3 separate regions of the Homo sapiens genome follow, and all the other regions are linked to region 2. The links are contacts of gene promoters, found by promoter capture Hi-C in blood cells and fetal thymus (Javierre and others, 2016). All regions are on one chromosome and are shown on one strand. Each heading gives the region's core, a stretch centred on a gene start or on the middle of the fragment in contact. The rest is flanking DNA. Distances are from core to core; before and after follow the strand shown. Region 1 has its middle 240 kb from the start of CXCR4. Region 2 holds the start of LCT (lactase). Region 3 has its middle 260 kb from the start of CXCR4.

The links. Contacts are between HindIII fragments. The CHiCAGO score rates a contact against its expected background, and 5 or more counts as called.
Region 1: a fragment that was not itself captured here is called in contact with the fragment with the promoter of LCT in region 2 in 1 of 17 cell types (neutrophils); the score reaches 5.9 in neutrophils.
Region 3: a fragment that was not itself captured here is called in contact with the fragment with the promoter of LCT in region 2 in 10 of 17 cell types (activated CD4 T cells, erythroblasts, M1 macrophages and 7 more); the score reaches 8.5 in activated CD4 T cells.

What each region holds. Positions count from the first base shown.
Region 1 is chr2:136,361,252-136,363,951 of GRCh38, reverse strand. No RefSeq gene overlaps it. Among named protein-coding and RNA genes, the nearest start is that of CXCR4, 240 kb to the right of the region's middle. The HindIII fragment of the contact is 3,737 bases long and covers 1-2,700 here.
Region 2 is chr2:135,835,833-135,838,532 of GRCh38, reverse strand. It overlaps LCT (lactase), which reads left to right and starts at 1,349. Exons shown (of 17, transcript NM_002299.4): 1 at 1,349-2,003. The coding sequence starts at 1,364. The HindIII fragment of the contact is 13,164 bases long and covers 1-2,700 here.
Region 3 is chr2:136,380,028-136,382,727 of GRCh38, reverse strand. No RefSeq gene overlaps it. Among named protein-coding and RNA genes, the nearest start is that of CXCR4, 260 kb to the right of the region's middle. The HindIII fragment of the contact is 1,640 bases long and covers 589-2,228 here.

The sequences.
Region 1 (2,700 bases), core at 3-2,502, 530 kb before region 2:
TGAAGTACTTTTATCCTCTGAAGTGCAACATATATATTCCTGCACTCTGTGGAGCTGTTTCTCTGCTTCCCTGTTCACTTAGGGAGACCGAGACACCCAGGCAAAGGCACCCACCGATAGCGGCTAAGTCAAGAAAGGGGTGAAGGGCAGTCGGAGAGGCTCCCATATAACTTCATCAAGAAGTCTGCCAAGAAGTGCAGTCCCAAAAGAGTGAGAGAAACCAGCTTGCTGGACTTTTCTTCCCTAGTCACAGGACATGATGGGGGCAGTTCTGGGTACTCTGAGGTTAAGAGCACAAAGTGCTCTTACAAAGCTGGTTCTGAAGGGAACACACAGCACTTCCTAAGGCAGCGCCTCTTAACCTCAACCGCAGTTTACAATTAGGGAAACTAACAAAAAAATGCAGACAACCAAGCCCCACCCCCAGAGATTCAGTTGCAATTGATTTGCAGCAGGTCATTGGTATTATCTAAAAGCATACCAGGTAATTCAAGTGCACAGCCTCTCCCCTAAGATAGAGTCTCACTCTGTCGCACAGCCTAGAGTGCAGTGGCACAATCTCAGCTCACTGCAACCTCCACCTCCCGGGTTCAAGCGATTCTCCTGCCTCAGTCTCTCAAGTAGCTGGGATTACAGGCATGCGCCACCATACCAGGCTAATATTTGTATTTTTAGTAGAGACAGGGTTTCACCATGTTGGCCGGGCTGATCTTAAACTCCTGACCTCAGGTGATCCGCACGCCTCAGCCTCCCAAAGTGCTGAGATTACAGGCATGAGCCACCGCACCCGGCCTCAGGAGGACTTTTAAGAGAAATGGATTCCTGGAGCTGACCATAAATTGAGTGAAATCAGTTAAGCCCCAGCTCTAAACTCAGCTCTGCCACTTATTGCATGACCTTAATTTGGCTCAACTTCAGTTTCCTTACCTGAACCACGGGGACAATAATACCTACCCTGCAGTGATAGTGGTAATTGAGATGATATATGCAAAAGAGCTCCTGGCACAAGGTTATTAACAGTCATCTCTACCCAAGATTGGTTCATCTGTGGTCAAGTACATCTTTGTGGTCATGATTCAGAACCAAAGAGAAGCCAGCACCTTACATGACTCATTTACTTTCACCCCCATTTGTAGAGGAAGGTGTTCACCCACAGCACCCACCTGGTTCTTTCTGGATCTAACACTGGTCTTTGGCTTGAATGGCAAGTCTTACAGCAGTTAACTCTCAGTTATTCACAGGAATGGAAGAGAATTATGGGAAGGTAACCAAGAGATTCCCTATCTGGGATGTGAAGTGTATCACAGGCAGTGGTAAGCAGAATAATGGACTCCTCTAAAGATGTCCATGACCTACTCCCCAGAATCTGTGAACATGTCAGTTTACATGGCAAAGAAGAATTAAAGTTGTAGATGGAGTTGAGTTTGCTAATTAGATGACCTTGACATAGGAGATTATCCTGGATTTGGAGTAGTCCCAGTGGAATCACAGGGTCTTTTTCAGTGGAAGAGGGATGCAGAAGAGAGAAACCTGGAGAGATGATGGTATAAGAAGGACTCAAGCCGCTGTTGCTGGTAGAAGCAACAGGAAGAAATGGCTGGGAGCAAGGAATGTGGATGGCCCTAAGAAACTAGAAAAGGCATGGAAATAGGTTCTCTCCTAGAGCCTGAAGAAAGAATGCATCCCTGCTAGCTCAAACCCTGTGTCCTCCATCTGACCTCCAGCATTGTAAGATAATACATTTGTGTTGCTTTAAGCCACTAAGTTTGTGATAACTTGGTACAGCAGCCATAGAGAACTAATAGGCCAAACACTTGTGTAACCAGGTTTCCAGGCCCTCTCCATAGTGCCCCTGACTAAATTAGGTGGCTGTGTGGTAACTCAGGAGCCTGCAGGCAGGGAAGAAAATGACCTCAACAAGCAGTGCTTGAGAACAAAATACAAGTCCTGAGGTTCATTCATTCATTCACTCAAGCACCATCGCTGAGCATCTTCTTTGTCCTGAGCAGTGGATACCAGCTGAGTAAACCATGGTCTCAGGCTTCAAGGACCTCTCCACCTGGAAGCAGGAGGCAGAGACAAACAGGGCATTAGGAGTGCTGCAATCTATGTCCAGTGTCAGGAAGTGATGTTCCAGCTGAATTTGGCAATGCGAACAGGTATTTGTGGAGCCAACTAAATTGCAGGAAAGCAGAGCAGTGTGAGCCACTGCAAGGGCTCTTGTGAAGACATCACTCATAAACCACCCACACTGCCTGAAATCAATGGGTGAGACTCATCCTCTGCATACTCTCCCCGAGAACACATGTCACATCCTCCACTGGATCCACCACAGGCTCTGGGAGCACGGGAACCCTGGCTCATGCCTCTCTCACACACCAATAGCATAGACTCTCTGACATGTAGTAGGTGCTCATTTAAAAAGTTGTTGAGGGAAGGAATGGATGGAGAGAGAGAAGGAAGAAGGGAAGGTGAGACATCAAATTCCAAAACTCCCTCATTTCTCACCCTCACTCCAGGAGTGCCCCAAAAATGCAGCCCTGGAAATTCTCCTTCCTGACCTACCATATCCCTCAGGCTTCTCTCAGCCCTCCCTCCAGGCTTTGCCAGATGCTGCCCAGGACCTAGCACCAATAAGAGAAATGAAGATGCCTGTGCCCTCTCTAGAACCCTTCCACAATCTGTGGAAGAAAAAAGAGG
Region 2 (2,700 bases), core at 100-2,599:
TAAGAGCTATTAAGTGAAGAAAAGGCTGAAAATACATATGGCATAATTCCATATATGTTAAATTGTTCTATATTTTAAATGTTATACACGTTTCCATTTGTATTTACGTAATAATAATGATCCCTGAGCTGTACTGTTGTATACATGCTACAAGAAAGACCCATTTAATCCCCACAGCCTATGATGAATTATCCACATTCTACAGGTGACAAAATAGAGGCACAAAGTTAAGTAATTTTTGTCAGGTGAGATTTAAACCCAGGCATTCTGACTCCTGTATAACCATTAAGATATGCAGAGAAAGAAAACTGGAAAGATACATATTGCTGAAGATACTTATTATAGGAAGAGGAGGGGGGAGGGTGAAGGAATTTGCAAGTTTTTCATAGATGTTTCCATATTGTTTGAATCTCTTACAAAATATGTTCAGCATATTTTTAAAGAGAAAATTTGGGGCAAAATACTTATTTTTGTATTATGTAAACAAATTTTAAAATAATGTGTGGCTGGGTGCGCTGGCTCACACCTGTAATCCCAACACTTTAGGAGGCTGAGGCAAGAGGATTGCTTGAGCCCAGGAGTTCAAGACCAGCCTGGGTGACATGGCAAAACTCCATCTCTACTAAAAATACAAAAAATTAGCCAGTCGTGGTGGCGCACACCTATGGTCCCACCTACCCAGGATGCTGAGATGGGAGGATCACTTGAGCCCAGGAAGTCAAGGCTGCAGGAAGCTGTGATCGCACCACTGCACTCCCACCTGGGCAACAGAGTGAGACCCGGTCACCAAAAAACAAAAAAAACAAAAAAAATTGGTAATCGTTTTCTTCAGACATTTTCCGGGTTCCTCTGCTTAACTTGTATAGGAAGTCTGAGGTTTTTGTGTTGGTCTTTACCTTTTTTTTTTTTTTTTTTTTTTAAGATGGAGTCTCATTCTGTTGCCCAGGCTGGAGTGCAGTGGCATGATCTTGGCTCCTGCAACCTCCGCCTCCTGGGTTCAAGTGATTCTCCTGCCTCAGCCTCCTGAGTAGCCGGGACTACAGGCGCATGCCACGATGCCTGGCTAATTTTTTGTATTTTTAGTAGAGATGGGGTTTCACCATGTTAGCTAGGACGGTCTCGATCTCCTGACCTCGTGATCCGCCCACCTCGGCCTCCCAAAGTGCTGGAATTACAGGTGTGAGCCACCACGCCCGGCCCTGATCTTTACATTTTTAAATATTGCATTAGTGAACCGTGTACTGATTTTGTGATCATAGATAACCCAGTTAAATATTAAGTCTTAATTATCACTTAGTATTTTACAACCTCAGTTGCAGTTATAAAGTAAGGGTTCCACATACCTCCTAACAGTTCCTAGAAAATGGAGCTGTCTTGGCATGTAGTCTTTATTGCCCTGCTAAGTTTTTCATGCTGGGGGTCAGACTGGGAGTCTGATAGAAATTTCATTTCCACCGCTGGTCCTCTAACCAATGACTTGCTGCACAACCTGAGTGGTCTCCTGGGAGACCAGAGTTCTAACTTTGTAGCAGGGGACAAAGACATGTATGTTTGTCACCAGCCACTGCCCACTTTCCTGCCAGAATACTTCAGCAGTCTCCATGCCAGTCAGATCACCCATTATAAGGTATTTCTGTCATGGGCACAGCTCCTCCCAGCAGGAAGCACCCAGAATCCAGACGAGAAAACAGTGCAGTGCTACCGGCGACTCCTCAAGGCCCTCAAGACTGCACGGCTTCAGCCCATGGTCATCCTGCACCACCAGACCCTCCCTGCCAGCACCCTCCGGAGAACCGAAGCCTTTGCTGACCTCTTCGCCGACTATGCCACATTCGCCTTCCACTCCTTCGGGGACCTAGTTGGGATCTGGTTCACCTTCAGTGACTTGGAGGAAGTGATCAAGGAGCTTCCCCACCAGGAATCAAGAGCGTCACAACTCCAGACCCTCAGTGATGCCCACAGAAAAGCCTATGAGATTTACCACGAAAGCTATGCTTTTCAGGGTGAGTACACATTGACCTGATGGTGACCCCTCGGCAACCTTCATCACACACCTTCCCCATCCTCCTTAGAGCAGATTCGACATTTCTCCCAACTCACCTTCAGCAGTCCTCTTATGTCTGTGCATAGGGAGAAATTAATATTGTAAATTGATTTCCCACTGGCGATAGGAAGGGGTAGCTAACATGGCAAAACACTCAGCATTTCCTTTGAAAAATATCTTTGAGGCTCACGCCTGTAATCCTAGCACTTTGGGAGGCCGAGGTGGGCGGATCACTTGAAGTCAGGAGTTCGAGACCAGCCTGGCCAATATGGCAAAACCCCGTCTCTACTAAAAATACCAAAATTAGCCAGGGATGGTAGCAGGCGCCTGTGATCCCAGCTACTCGGGAGGCTTAGGCAGGAGAATTGCTTGAACCCAGGAGGCAGATGTTGCAGTGAGCCGAAATCATGCCACTGTACTACAGCCTGTGCGACAGAGCAAGACACAATCTCAAAAAAAAAAAATATGTATACATATATATATATATATATATATATATATATATATATATACACACATGTATTTTTGAAATACCCCTTGCCCAGTCTTGAGTTGTGCAAGCACTGATTGTCTTTCTGTCTTCCTTTCCGTCTATGTCCTGCTACCCTGACTTGGAGGCAAAGTTTCGTGGTTTCCTGTCCTTCCCCCTCGGCTCC
Region 3 (2,700 bases), core at 159-2,658, 540 kb before region 2:
CATATAGTAGGTGTGCAGTAAATGTCCAGTGAACTACTACATGAAAATCAGGAATATATGAAAAACATGTCTGTCTGATGGCAGGGCCGCCTTCCAGGGCACAGTTGCTCTGGCTGCCTGGGCAGCTTAACTCAAAGTCAAGTGAGGTCGTCAGTGACAGGTGCAACCACCACCCAGGCCGAAACTTTGGAGTTTGAGTGTCACGGAGAGTGAGAATGTCCTATTTCTGTTTGAGAAACACCACCACCAAGTTTCGTCAGCAGACCCTGCCTTTGACGCTGCACCACATCCCCTCCCCATTTCCTCTCAGTCAAAACGGAAGATGCTTTTCTTTCCAAACAAACTTCTCTTGAGCTTCAGGGCCCTCCCAGACCTCCCTAAACCCACCAATCCCAGCACCCTGCCTCCTACTCAGTCCTGCAATGAGTGACTTTGTCTGTACTCATTCAGATCCATACACACCCTGTGGTCGGCTGTGTTTGTTTCTGTTTTTAAAGGGCTGAAGCAACTGAGTCTCAGAAAGAGCAGGTGACTTCTTGAAGGTCACACAGCTAAAAGCCCCGTCAAGGGCATCCAGAGCATAAAGCTTTGTCATGACGCTAGTTGCTATTTAAGTGCTTGCTAGACTCTGCTAAGTGCTTCCTCACATGACCCCTGCCGATCCTCACACCAGCCCTGTGAGATGAGTATATTATGAAGCCCAGTTTATCAGAAGGCCTAAGTCACGAATTAGTTGGATAACCAGCTCAGGGTCACTCTGCTTGAAGTCACAGATCTGATTCTAACTCGGGACCGAAGCTGACCACATAGCCTCAACTCTCCCCTACATACTCATCACATGGCTGCTGGATGATTTTTCTCTGCTTCAGATTCTCACTTATTCCACTGGACGCTCCTTGAGCAATGGAGTCACATGGTGGGACAGGTGGCCCCTGGTCACTGAAAGGCATTCCACCCAGAGGGACCCAACTTCAGGAAGTAACAACCTCTAGCACCCCCACACCTGCCTCCCTACTTTTCTCCACGCCCCTTCTTTCTTGCTCTCCCATCCACTGCAGGCCCCCACCAGGCCTTTCCTCCCTGAACCCAAACTCTCCTCCTCCCAATTATCTTCACACCAAACTCAGCTGGTTTTCTAGGGGGATGCACCTGACAAGCACATTGACTGTGACTAGCACAGCACCTACCCCAAATATGGGGCATCCCTTTACAATTCAAGCACATCTTATTTCAGCCAAATCTACAGGGACCATTTCTGTCAATTCTGTAGTAAAAATTTTATAGCCCGGGGAGTTTCTCCACCAGGGGCACATGTACTTGCATTTTAACACAGAAAAACCTTAGGAGGGAGAAGAAGGCCCCAAACATGAAGGCTGTAAATATGGATGTTCACCTCTTAACCTCTCCTGGCCCCAGCCCTCTGAAGCTGGAGACTTAAGAATAGCTGCTATAGGGGGCCAGACATGATAGCTCAAACCTGTAATCCCAGCACTTTGGGAGGCCAAGGTGGGAGGGGATTACTTGATGTCGGGAGTTTGAGACCAGCCTGACCAACATGGAGAAACCCTGTCTCTACTAAAAATGCAAAAATTAGCTAGGCATGGTGGCGCATGCCTGTAATCCCAGCTATTCAGGAGGCTGAGGCAGGAGAATCGCTTGAACCTGAGAAGCAGAGGTTGTGGTGAGCCAAGATCATGCCATTGCACTCCAATCTGGGCAACAAGAACGAAACTCCATCTCAAAAAAGAAAGAAAGAAAGAAAAGCTGCTATATATCAAGCATCTACTCTGTGCCTTGCCGGCCATTTTTACTTGACCCCTAAAACCACTCCATGCAGTAGGTTGCATTGTCCCAGATTTACAGGTTTTAAAAAATGAGATCCAGGCTGGGCACAGTGGCTCACGCCTGTAATCCCAGCACTTTGGGGGGCCGAGGCAGGTGGATCACTTGAGGCCAGGAGTTCGAGACCAGCCTGGGAAACATGGCAAAACCTCATTTTTACCAAAAAAATATGAAAATTAGCCAGGCGTGGTGGTGTGCATCTTTGTCCCAGCAACTTGGGAGGCTGAGGTGGGAGGATTACTGGAGCCCGGAAAGTCAAGGCTGCAGTGAGCTGTGATCGCACCACTCACTCTAGCCTGGGTGACAAAGCGAGACCCTGTCTCAAAAAACTAAATACATAATAAAAACGAGAGCCAGAGAATAAATAACTTCCTGACTCCAAAGCTTTGCGTATTTGCCACTACAATTGGCTGCCTCCCTGATTCTCTTGGTGAGACTTAAGATTTTGCAAAGCAAAACCCAGCTCTTACCTTCCCACCCGATGCAGGCTAGAGGTTCGATCAGGGAGCCATTTATATTCAGCAGATAGTAGAGCCTGCGTACGATGTACAAGCAAACATTTGTATTCTAATCTGTGATTAGAGTTCTACTTCCAGCTCTGGAGTTCTTACTATATAATTGTGCCCACAAATCCAGTTTGATTTGCTGTTCTGCTTATTTATTCTTTGCATTGGAATTGTTTAGAGTCATTGGACTAACCAAAATTTTTAAATGGCAAATTAAACAAGAGGTGAATGTGCTAGCGTTGGAGCCATATTGATCCAATAGAACACGAAACAGGTCTTTTAATGTATGGATGAAATCTCCAAAGCTATTGACAATTTTCTGCCATGCTTTTTAATCATCACATGCTTGCTC